Regions from separate parts of the Homo sapiens genome. Here region 1 is linked to region 2. The links are contacts of gene promoters, found by promoter capture Hi-C in blood cells and fetal thymus (Javierre and others, 2016). All regions are on one chromosome and are shown on one strand. The core of a region is centred on a gene start or on the middle of the fragment in contact, and the rest is flanking DNA. Distances in the headings are between cores, read along the strand shown.

Region 1 (6,031 bases), core at 1,311-3,810, 310 kb after region 2:
GCAGAGGTTGCAGTGAGCCAAGATCACACCACTGCACTCCAGCCTGGGGGACAAAGCGAAACTCCGTCTCAAAAAAAAAAAATTTGTTACCAGGGGCTGGGTGTGGTGGCTCATATCCCGGCATTTTGGCAGACTGAGGTGGGAGGATCACTTGAGCCCAGGAGTTTGAGACCTGCCTGAGCAAAAGAGTGAGACCTCTCCCAGCACTTTGGGAGGCCGAGGCGGGCGGATCATGAGGTCGGGAGATCGAGACCATCCTGGCTAACACGGTGAAACCCCGTCTCTACTAAAAAAAATAATAATAATACAAAAAATTAGCTGGGTGTGGTGGCAGGCACCTGTAGTCCCAGCTACTTGGGAGGCTGAGGCGGAGAATGGTGTGAACCCGGGAGGCGGAGCTTGCAGAGAGCCAAGATCGCACCACTGCACTCCAGCCTGGGCAACAGAGCGAGAGTCTGTCTCCAAAAAAAAAAAAAAAAAAAAAAAAAAAAAAAAAAGTGAAACCTCATCTCTATAAACAATTTTTTTAAATTAGCAGGGGATGATTGTGCATGCCTGTGGTGCCAGCTACTTGGAAGGCTGTGGTGGGAGGATCCCTTGAGCTCAGGAATTCCAGGCTGCAGTGATTGCACCACTGCACTCAGACCCTGTCTCTAAAAAACAAAATTTAAATCAAGTCACTCACTTGTTCAAAAATGTGCAGTGAGGCCAGGCTCAGTGGCTCACACCTGTAATCCCAGCACTTTGGGAGGCCAAGGTGGGAGACCTGTTTGATTCCATACCAAATAATTGAGACCACCCTGGGCAACATAGTGAGACCTAGGTCTCTACAAAAAATTTAAAAATTAGCCAGGTGTGTGCCTGTAGTCTCAGCTACTCAGGAGGCTTAGGTGGGAGGATTGCTTGAGCCTAGGAGGTCGAGGCTGCAGTGAGCTGTGATCGCACCACTGCACTCAAGCCTTCGCAACAGACCAAGACCTAGTCTCAAAAAAAAAAAAAAGTGCGCAATGACTCCCGTTGCCAATTCAAAGAGCTTTTATGAATGTTTCAATATACTTGTCTAGCGTATGTGCCTGTTTTTGGACTCAAAGTGGCCACCATAGGTGGGAGATCAAGTTGGCAACAATAGTGTTCCAAGGTAATACACCCTATATCTTGCTCTGTACCCCAGGCTGGAGTGCGGTGGCTCAATCTTGGCTTGCTGCAACAACCGCCTCCCAAGTTCAAGCGATTCTCCTGCCTCAGCCTCCCGAATAGCTGGAACTACAGGCGCGCGCCACCACGCCCGGCTAATTTTTTGTACCCCTTAGTAGAGACGGGGTTTCACCCTGTTAGCCAGGATGGTCTCAATCTCCTGACCTCGTGATCTGCCCGCCTCGGCCGCCCAAAGTGCTGGGATTACAGGCGTGAGCCACCGCGCCCGGCAAGAATTTTTTTTTTTTTTTTGAGATGGAGTTTCGCTCTTTCGCCCAGACTGGAGTTCAGTGGCACGATCTCTGCTCACTGCAACCTCCGCCTTCCGGTTTCAAGCGATTCTCCTGCCTCAGCCTCCCAAGCCCGGCTACTTTTTGTATTTTTAGTACAGACGGGGGTTTCATCATGTTGGCCAGGCTGGTCTCGAACTCCTGACCTTGTGATCCGCCCGCCGCGGCCTCCCAAAGTGCTGGGATTACAGGCGTGAGCCACCGTGCCCGGCCCCAAGAATTTTTTTTAATAAGAAATTTTGTAGAACCTTCTATAGGCAGTCGTTTTACAGCGGCGAAGAACGGAACCCGGCAGATGACATTGAATAAATGTTGAGTGGACAACTTTGTTCTTTTCCTCTTCCTTGACTCCGCCTCCTTGCTTTCCCTTCATTCTCTTTTGCTCTTGTGCTTTTAAACCCAAAGCGGCCGCCGTAGGCGAAGGTGAAGATGGCTGCCTCTGCCTTTGCTGGTGCAGTGAGAGCAGCTTCAGGTCAGTGGAGAGCGACATACTCCATGCATGCCTTCACAGAAGGGGAAACTGGTGCGGGATGGAATGGGCGTTTAGACTGGAGGTTAACAAGCAAAAAGGGTCATTATTTAAGTTAAGAAGGTTGCGCCCAATTTTCTCTGGGGCGGTGTGACCGGCAGCCCGTACCAAGTCCCCCGACTCGGACTCACGCGGGCCTGTGTGTCACGCATTTGCCGCTTCCTTACCAGCTTTTTTTCCCTAGAAAAGAAGCCAGAGAAACTGGAACGGAGGGGGCGAGGGAAACCAAAAAGTCTCACCTAACTTTCTGATTTAGAGGCTACGACCTGCCATTCACGACCTTTAACCTTGAGAATTAATGTCTCCTAACTTAAGATTCTACACCTCTAAAATGGGGGTCATAACCACCTACCTGGGGATTAAATGAGATAATGCACGTAAAGCGTTTTGGGCAGTGCCTGACACATGGTAAGCTTGAAGGCTAATTTAATTTTTAACTACAGCCCCCGGCACAAGGGCTGGTATGAGGACTTCTTGACTGAGAGATAGCAGAAGTAAAGGCGACTAAATTAAGTTGCCGTGACGTTAAGTACTTTTTGCAAAAAGTTAAAAATCATCCAAATACCATAGGATGCTCAGTAAGTTACTTTCACACAAAATATATTGTTAGGATAACATTTTGTGGGAGAATATACGAGATCAGTCAAGAAAATGCAGCGATGTAAATTTTACCGTTAGAGAAAAGCTTTTTTTATGTGGAGTATTTTTTGTGTTCGCGAAATATAATACATATGAAGAAAATTTTATATAGTATGCATGAATGATTTAACAGTTCTAAAGCAAACACCTGTTTAACACTCAGGTCAAAACAGTGCACTACCAGAAGCCTCCTCTCCCCTATGTATCAAAATTCTCTACTTCCCCCCCAGATATAAACACTGTTCTCATTTTTATAGTTACTATTAGGTTGCCTATTTTTCCTATAGTAGTTTTAGCATCCATATGTGCATCTCAAGAACATAGTTTTGCCTGGTTTTGAACTTCACATGAATTGGTTCATACAGTATATACGCTTTAGTATCTTCTTTTACATTGTGAGATTCATTCATTCATTTTGCGTAGCTGTAATGCTTTCTCATTGCTATATAATTCTTTTTTTTTTTTTGAGACGGAGTTTCTCTCTTGTTGCCCAGGCTGGAGTGCAATGGCACGATCTGGGCTCACTGCAACCTCCTCCTCCCAGGTTTAAGTGATTCCCTTGGAGTAGCTGGGATTACAGGCATGCGCCACCACGCCCAGCTAATTTTGTATTTTTAGTAGAGTTGGGGTTTCTCCATGTTGGTCAGGCTAGTCTGGAACTCCTGACCTCAGGTGATCCGCCCGCCTCGACCTCCCAAAGTGCTGGGATTACGGGTGTGAGCCACCCTGCCCGGCCTGCTGTATAATATTATATGACTGTGCCACAATTCTCCATTTCCAGTTTGGGGCAATTATGTACAAAGCTGATTGATCTCATCCTGGCGCATGAGTCCAATTGTTTCTGAGGATGTGGGTATGTGTGAAAATCGCTGTGGAATTGCCTGGTCAGAGAATATGTATATATTCAGCATTGCCTGATATTGCCAAACTGTTGAGGCCCCACATCCTCACCAACACCTGATATTGATATTGTCAATAGATATTGTCAGACCTACAAATTTTTGTTAATCTGGTGGCTTTGTAATGGTATCTCATTGAGATTTAAATAAGCATTTCTCTGATTAATAACAAGCTATAGTGTGTTTCACATTTTTATTGGCCTTTTGAATTTCCTTTATGAAATATCCACTTAAATATTTTGCCCATTTTCCTATTGGATTGTTTGTCTTATTTATTTAGAGTATTTTTTGTTTTGTTTTTGTTTTTCATTTGTGTGTGTCCTTTAGCTTCTCCCACTCAGGCTTGTCTTTTTTACATTATTTTGGAGTGCCCTTTGACGAAAAGTTGTTTTTCATCTACTTGAATTTATAGTTCTTGTAATTTTTAAATAGATGATGTAGGTAGTTATCAACTTACTATTAATTTAGATTCTACTGAAAACAATTTAAAGAGTGATGTGACAGCTTATTTTAAAATGTCAGTATTTTAAATATGCTGGAAATTATAGCCTTTTTAACAATTTAAACTATTTGATATTTTAGATATTAAGAATTTGTGAAAGGGTAGTTTTTCAAAATTCTTTTAGGAAACATAGGATCAGAAATCTTGAAGACTCCTGGTTTCGATACTGTCACAGTCTCCTCCACTCCCATCCAGTGCAGTTCATGTCCCCCATTCATTCCTTTGATTCATGCCACATAGGGCCATTGTAATTCCCCAAATGTACATCGTCACCTTTGTACGTCCTATTCCCTCTGTCTCTTCGTACTCTGTCAAAACTCTGGTTTTGCGTTACCTCTTTTGTGAAAACATCTGTATTCTCTATACAACAGTGTGTTTAGAGTAGACTAGTCTGTATGAAAATGCCCAGACGGGGCAGAGGACTGAAGGAAATTAGTTACTTTCCTTGATGTACTGCACTTTTGTTAACAAAGCTAGACTGTTAGGTTTCCCTCACAGGCTTAATCACATGATTGATCCACCAGAAGGCGCAGTAGATAGAGCCTCCCCACATATTTTCCCATGAACTGCTCTCAACCAAGATCCCAGTTCCTGTTGTTCCCGTAACCATTTTTTCTAACTTCAGTGTATTTATTCCTGATTTCATCTTGTTGGTTTTGATCTGTTTTTCTCTCTTACTAAGATCACTTGGAGTTCTGATACTCTGTGTCTTCACAAATACATTAACAAGCCATTGTTCCCAGCTTGCTTTTTGGGAAAATTGATAAATATGTCTTATGCAGCCTCAGGATCTTCATAAAAATTGAGAACAAAAGAATTTCATAGGTTTTAATTTTTTAACCAAGAGATACCAAAATCTGATGACGTGTGAAAATTGGAACATTTTCTTGTCTACAGTCCTCCAATGCACTTAATCTTCCAAAGATTACCTCCTGCCTTATTACATCTGCACATCTTTTCAGTTCTTTGCGATTTAACTTATTTGATTTCCAAGGCCCTATGTAAGGGCTCTCTCATCAGTTTTCTGCACCAATGTTTATGCTACCCTTTTCAGTTGCAAATTGTTATCTCTTTTTCTTTTGTGGAGACAGAGTCTCCTTCTGTCTCCTGGAGTGCAGTGGCAAGATCTCGGCTCACTGCAACCTCTGCCTCCTGAGTTCAAGCAGTTCTCCTACCTCAGCCTCCGAGTAGCTGGGACTACAGGCGCGCGTCACTCTGCCCAGCTAATATTTCTATTTTTAGTAGAGACGGGGTTTCACATGTTGGCCAAGCTGGTCGCAAACTCCTGACCTCAGGTGATCCGCCGGGGCCTCCCAAAGTGTTGGGGTTACAGGGGTGAGCTACCACACCTGGCCCTGTTATCACTGATGGCCACATATTAATATACAGGTTAGGTATCTTTAATCTGAAACTTTTTGAGTACCAACATGACACCACAAGTGGGAAATTCTTTTTTTTTTTTTTTTTGAGACGGAGTCCCGCTCTGTCGCTCAAGGTGGAGTGCAGTGGCACAATCTCAGCTCACTGCAAGCTCTGCCTCCCAGGTTCACGCCATTCTCCTGCTTCAGCCTCCCAAGTAGCTGGGACTACAGGCACCTGCCACCATGCCCAGCTAATTTTTTTTTGTATTTTTAGTAGAGACGGGGTTTCACTGTGTTAGCCAAGATGGTCTTGACCTCCTGATCTCCTCGTGATCTGCCTGCCTCGGCCTCCCAAAGTGCTGGGATTACAGGCGTGAGCCACCGCACCCGGCCCACAAATGGAAAATTCTTTACCCGATCTCACGTGATCGGTGGCAGTCAAAACTTTGTTTCATGTACAAAATTATTTAAAATATTGTATAAAATTAACTTTAAGCTATATGTGTAAGATTTATATGAAACAAATGAATTTCATGTTTGGACTTGAGTCCCATCTCCAAGATATCTCCTTTATGCAAAATTTTAAAAAATCTAAAATACTTCTGGTCACAAGCATT
Region 2 (5,813 bases), core at 887-3,386:
ACATGTGTATATTCCCAGTTGTTTTACTTCTGCCAGAGCTTCCCAGCAGACTAAAACCACGGAGCATGCCCTTCGGGAGTGATCTCAGTCCTCCATCGTGTCCACAGGCAGTGCGGATTAAATCGCTCCTCAGGAGCCAGGAGGGTGTGGAAGGTGAGCTTTATCCCTTCTCCCAGAAACTGCTGGCTCCAAGACACCCACCTCAGCCCTCCAGGACCTGGAATGGACTCCCACAGAGGACTCACCAACCTCTTTTCATTCATTGCCTCCCGAGGCCAACCTGCTAGATAAATTCCCCTCATTGCTGCAAATAGTCCCACAAGGCAAGCAGGGAAGAACTAGAGGAGCAAACCAAAGAACAAAGAGTGTGTTCTTATTCTGCCACGGATATATCCTTAACGTTCATCACCAATCTATTTTGATAACATGCAACAATTTACAATTTATGCCAAAATTATAAGAACTGTCCAAATAGTCGTAAATGTGAGCTCTCAAAATTTCTGCCTGTCAGCCCTCTCTCTTCCATGAGCCCCTTCATGCCTTCCTATCTCACCTGTTTCTTTTCTCGCCTAGACGAAGAAATGCTGATCATAACCCAGAATATCCAAGGGTCATTTCATCTTACAAAAACAGCAGCATCCATATAACAGGCACATGGGTAAAAGACTCAAGACATGCTGGTTATATGCTCTCGCAGTTCGTATGAATCTCTCCTTCTCCAAGTGACAGCTGGAATTCAGGTGCTTCTAGGCTCTGTTACTAGCAATGTTAGACACTCCTCGAAGCTGTCAAGCTCTCAGGATTACACAAGTGAAACCACAACCTGTCCTGACTGTATTCAAGTCTGTGCCCCTTCATGCAGCAGAAATGGATTCCTCTTCCACAGTTTCAGCAGCTGTATCCTTCCGTGGAAAAGGATTAGCAGCCATAAGCCCGGGGGAGGGCAGCTAAACACCAGAGGGCAGGAGATGAGTCTCCTTCCTCTCTGTGACACCCAGCACGGCCCTGCCACGAGGAGCAGGCAACCACTGGTGCCAGATGAAGCGCAGCACATAAAACCATTTTCCCCTTCAAATGAACGATGCCTAATTAAGCAAAAGCCGCATGCATGACTTAAGACATGAGGATATAAAATTCGTCTTCCGAGTCAGCTAGAGATTCTGCAGGATCCTCTACCCTCGTAAACGTATTTTTTTATGATTAGAAAAACCCGGGGCCTGGAAGGGACCTCGGCCATCGGCAGGGTAAGCTTCTCAGGAGAGACCATGAGCCCGAGCCCCACAGGGGGATCAGTGTCTGCCAAGGTCACCAAGCGGGTGTGAGGCAAGGGCAGGGCTCCTCGGGGATGCTCTCGGAAAACCCTGCGTTACTTACACACGCAAGGCGTACAATGAATGCACACCCGCGTCAAGCCACGGCTTACAATTCAGAAGAAATCAAAAGGTCGCCAAAACCTGTCTTCTCCGCAAGGCTGGCTGCAGAGAGGGTGCAGGGAAGGTCACCGGCAAATTTCTACCAGCGGCCCCACATCACGCCTCCCCGATGGATGCAGAGAGAGGTTTCAGGAGCTGCTAGTAACCTTGCAGGGGGTTCCCTAAGCCCATCCCAGGAAAACGAGTTAACTCGGCTCTGCTAACTCCGAAGCTTCCAGCAATGAATTAAATCCCGAGCTGCAGCGGAAAGCGGCGGGGAAAGGGCCACTGCGGCGGGACCCGACACCCGGCGGTCCGCCCCACCCTCTACCGCGTACACACCTGCGTGGGACCCCCCGCCCGGTCCACACGGCCCGGGACCACGACCCTCCGCCCGCGCCCCAGCCGGGCTCGCCTGAGGGTGTCGTGCCCTGGGCGCTGCCCGCGGGGTTCGAGGCGGAAACGCCGCGCCCAGCCGGCCCGGGAAGAGACAAGTCGCCGCCGCAGCCCCCAGCCCGCGGGCCCCCGCGACGCCGAGGAGGGGGCTGCGCCACGTACCTCGGCCGGCAGGTGCCGCCGCTGCCTCGGTCCGCGGCTGCAGGGGACGCCGCTCCGCGCAGCCCGCCGCCTTCGTCCGCATACTAATGAGGGGGCGCCGGCCGGCCGCCAGCCCGGTACCCCGCGCCCCCACCCGCCCCCAGCGCCGCTCTCGCGCCCATTCAGCTGGGGGCCGCCGCTCCCCCGCTCAGATGCGGAGGAGGGGCGCGTGGGCGGGGTCTGACGTCACGAGGACGCGGACGGCCAATCGGAGAGCACGATGCCTCCGCGGCGGCCCCCGCCCCCGGGCGCGCGGCCAGTCAGCCCTGCGGTGCGGTGGGCATTGCCAGAGCAGGGCGCCCCCTGCAGGGACGCACCCGGGGCGGGGGCCAGGCTGGGGCGAGCCCCCCTTGGTTCTGGAGAGGAAATGACATACAGTTTGTGAAAGCATAAATATTCGTGAAAATAAGAAAATTCAGGAAGGAAACAAAGCTTAAGGCAGTGATTGATAGGTTATTTCTTGGACACAGCTGAACGTATACTGTGCGCCTGCAACTTTCCGGTGGTTTCGGACCGGACTTCAGTGAAGCCAGTGAAGTCGGTCGACTTGCAGAACTTCCTTTCAGAGGGGCGTACACAGCACCGCGGCCGTGTGCCTGTGATCTCCTTCTGAGTTTGAAAAAGAAGATCCTAGACACCGAGCCAAATATGTTTGCATAAACCGGGAGACTTGTGGCTCTATTTTGTAACAGCTTGGCGCAGGGCAGCTGGTTTGGAGATGTCTCTGTTCTTCCCTTGGTGGGGGTGCCGGAAAAAATGTGCTGCCTGGGCGATCGAGGTTGGGGCAAAAGCGTTGCAAAGGAAAAGGTGGGAGGACTCTACTTTCACATTTCCCAAAAGAGTTTTACCATAAGACTATTTCTGGATTGTTCTAACGTGAGGATATTGGGAGCATTTTGAAAATACTGGAGGAAAAGCTGTCACTGGGCGATTTAAATCCGGTAAGTTGGCCAAGGCAGAGCAGCTGCTGGGGTCAGCGACAGCTGACCCTTGCAGCTGAGTATCTTGCCCTCTTAATCTTGGAGATCAGCCCAAGGCCCATGTGTTACAGGAAAGGGGTCCCGATCTAGACCCCAAGAGAGGGTTCTTCGATCTCACGCAAGAAACAATTCAGAGTAAGTCCACAGTGCAAAGTAAAAGCAAGTTTATTAAGAAAGTAAAGTGGTGGCTGGGCACAGTGGCTCACGCGTAATCCCAGCACTTTGGGAGGCTGAGACGGACAGATCACCTGATGTCAGGAGTTCAAGACCAGCTGGCCAACATGGCAAAACCCCGTCTCTACTAGAAATACAAATATTGGCCGGGCGTGGTGGCGCAAGCCTGTTGTCTCAGCTACTCACGGGGCTGAGGCAGGAGAATCGCTTGAACCCGGGAGGCAGAGGCTACAGTGAGCCGAGATCGCCACTGCACTCCAGCAGGGCATTCCTGAAAATAAGAGGAGGGACATATCCAACTAAGGTACAATGCTTGTAATGCTTGTATATATGGGCAGATGTCTTCTGCTACAAGGGTTTGTGATAAAGGATTAATTTTCCCTAATTACTATATTTTGCAATAATCAATATTATTATTTTTAAAGCAAAATTAGGAATGCCTTTGTTCTCCAGATATCGGGATATCTGGACTCTCTCAAGTCTGGGTCTGTTTAGTAAGCATTATTAATTTGTTCTCTTAACCATAAACACCTAGAGGCTAGGAATGCCTAGCTTTCAGGAAATGCAGCCTAGCAAGTCCCAGCCTCATTTTTCTAGCCCTCACTCAAAATGGAGGCGCTCTGGTTTGAACACTTCTGACACATGTGCTTGATGCAACACTCTTTACCTCTCTTTGTCTCCCCTGTCCTTCCCCTTCTCTTCCAGATTCCCCTTGTCGGCAAAGCCAGGCGCTGATAGCGTTATGGCTGCCATGAGAGTCAGCAGTATCCCAGCTTCCAAGGATGGGTGTAAGGTGGGGGTGAGGAAGAAAAGGAACTTGAAGCTGCCTCCTGTCCCAGAATCACAAGACATCTGTTAAGCCCTTACTACCTCATTCACTCCACTCACATTAGGTTGACCCACTTGGGCAGCAAGACAAGCAGGCCTGCAAACTTCCTTTTCTTCATCAGCCACAGAGACATCCTCAGCTATTATTCTGGATTAAGGCAGAGATCTCCAAACAGCAGACTAAGATCAGCCTCTAGATCTCAAAGCCTTACTGTTATCTCTCCAAGTCAGTGGCTGATCTCAGAGAAGCTTCTGAATAGTGACTAGCAAAGAGTCACTCAGGCTACTTACAAATCCAGGACAGCAGCGTTTTTTTTTTTTTCTTTTTTAGAGACAGATTCACTCTGTCATCCAAGCTGGAGTGCAGTGGCACGATCTTGGCTCACTGCAACCTCCACCTCCTGGGCTCAAGCAATCCTCCTACCTCAGCCTCCCAAGTAGCTGGAACTACAGGTACCCAACACCATGCCAGGCTAATTTCTAATTTTTTGTAGAGACAGCAGTCTCCCTCTGTTGCCCAGGCTGGCCTCAAACTCCTAGGCTCAAGTGTTCCTCCTGCCTGGGCCTCCCAAAGTGCTGGGATCACAGATGTGAGCCACTGCATGCAGCCAAAACCAGTTATTTTTTGGCTGGGCATGGTGGCTCGCACCTGTGATCCCAGCACTTTGGGAAGCCGAGGTGGGCAGATTACTTGAGGTCAGGAGTTTGAGACCAGCCTGGACAACATGGTGAAACCCTGTCTCTGCTAAAAGTACAAAAAATTAGCTGGGCATGGTGGCATGTGCCTGTAATCCCAGCTACTCAGGAGGCTGAGGCAGGAAAATTGCTTGAACCCAGGAGGCAGAGGTTGCAGTGAGCCGAGATCACGCTAGTGCACTCTAGCCTGGGTGACAGAGCGAAACTCTGTCTAAAAAAAAGAAGTTATTTTTTATCAATATATATTAACATGCAATGGATTTATTATTATTATTATTTTATTTATTTATTTTTTACTTGAGACAGAGTCTTGCTCTGCCACCCAGGCTGGAGTGCAATGGTACAATCATGGCTCACTGCAACCTCCACCTCCCAGGTTCAGGTGATTCTCCTGCCTTAGCCTCCAGAAGTAGCTGGGATTACAGGCACGTACCACCATGCCCAGCTAATATTTGTATTTTTAGTACAGATGGGGTTTCACCATGTTGGCCAGGCTGGTCAAGAACTCCGGACCTCAGGTGATCCACCCTCCTCAGCCTCCCAAAGTGCTGGGATTATAGGTGTGAACCACAATGCCCAGCCAGATTTATTATTTTAATGACTTAATAAATATTTTAAAATTTAAATATTTAAATTAAATTAAATATTTAAAAATTTCTCAGTTTTAATTTTTAATTTGGCAAATATCAAGAGAAAGACCATGTCAAAAAGATTCTTTGGGATCCTCAGTAATTTCTAGGTGTGTAAATTGATCCTGAGACCAGAGTTTGAGACTTACTGGTCTCAGCCACCCAGATAGCCCCATTGCCCCATCCTCCTTGCCACTAGGAATGGTTCATGGGTAGCCACAGGAACCACACTGATCCAATCAGAGGAAGTCTCAGGAATTTATTGGATGCTGGGGGAGAGATGCTTTCATGTTCTGCTAGACAAGAACTAGGCAGTAAGTAGCCTCAGAAGCTGTTGGTAAGACAGACATCTTGGACTACAAGAAGAGCTTATTTTAGGAAGAAAGTAATGCTGTGGGAAGCAGAAGACCACGGTTAGAAAGAAACCATTTCCTTTATGACATTTTTGAGTCACTAAATCAAACCAGTCCTGAAGTCCATCTTGCCTCCGTACATTT

What was found. The method cuts DNA at HindIII sites, captures the fragments that hold promoters and counts their contacts. A CHiCAGO score of 5 or more calls a contact.
Region 1: a fragment that was not itself captured here is called in contact with the fragment with the promoter of ST3GAL5 in region 2 in 1 of 17 cell types (fetal thymus); the score reaches 5.9 in fetal thymus.

Annotation. Positions count from the first base shown.
Region 1 is chr2:86,197,578-86,203,608 of GRCh38, forward strand. It overlaps MRPL35 (mitochondrial ribosomal protein L35), which reads left to right and starts at 1,880. Exons shown (of 4, transcript NM_016622.4): 1 at 1,880-1,956. The coding sequence starts at 1,914. RefSeq lists an enhancer at 1,699-1,968. The HindIII fragment of the contact is 272 bases long and covers 2,425-2,696 here.
Region 2 is chr2:85,886,854-85,892,666 of GRCh38, forward strand. It overlaps ST3GAL5 (ST3 beta-galactoside alpha-2,3-sialyltransferase 5), which reads right to left and starts at 2,137. Exons shown (of 7, transcript NM_003896.4): 1 at 1,971-2,137. The coding sequence starts at 2,052. It overlaps ST3GAL5-AS1 (ST3GAL5 antisense RNA 1), which reads left to right and starts at 2,427. Exons shown (of 3, transcript NR_110569.1): 1 at 2,427-2,950; 2 at 4,323-4,352; 3 at 4,838-5,399. RefSeq lists enhancers at 719-838, 849-978, 1,317-1,817, 1,509-1,588 and silencers at 1,759-1,878, 1,919-2,538. The HindIII fragment of the contact is 797 bases long and covers 1,643-2,439 here.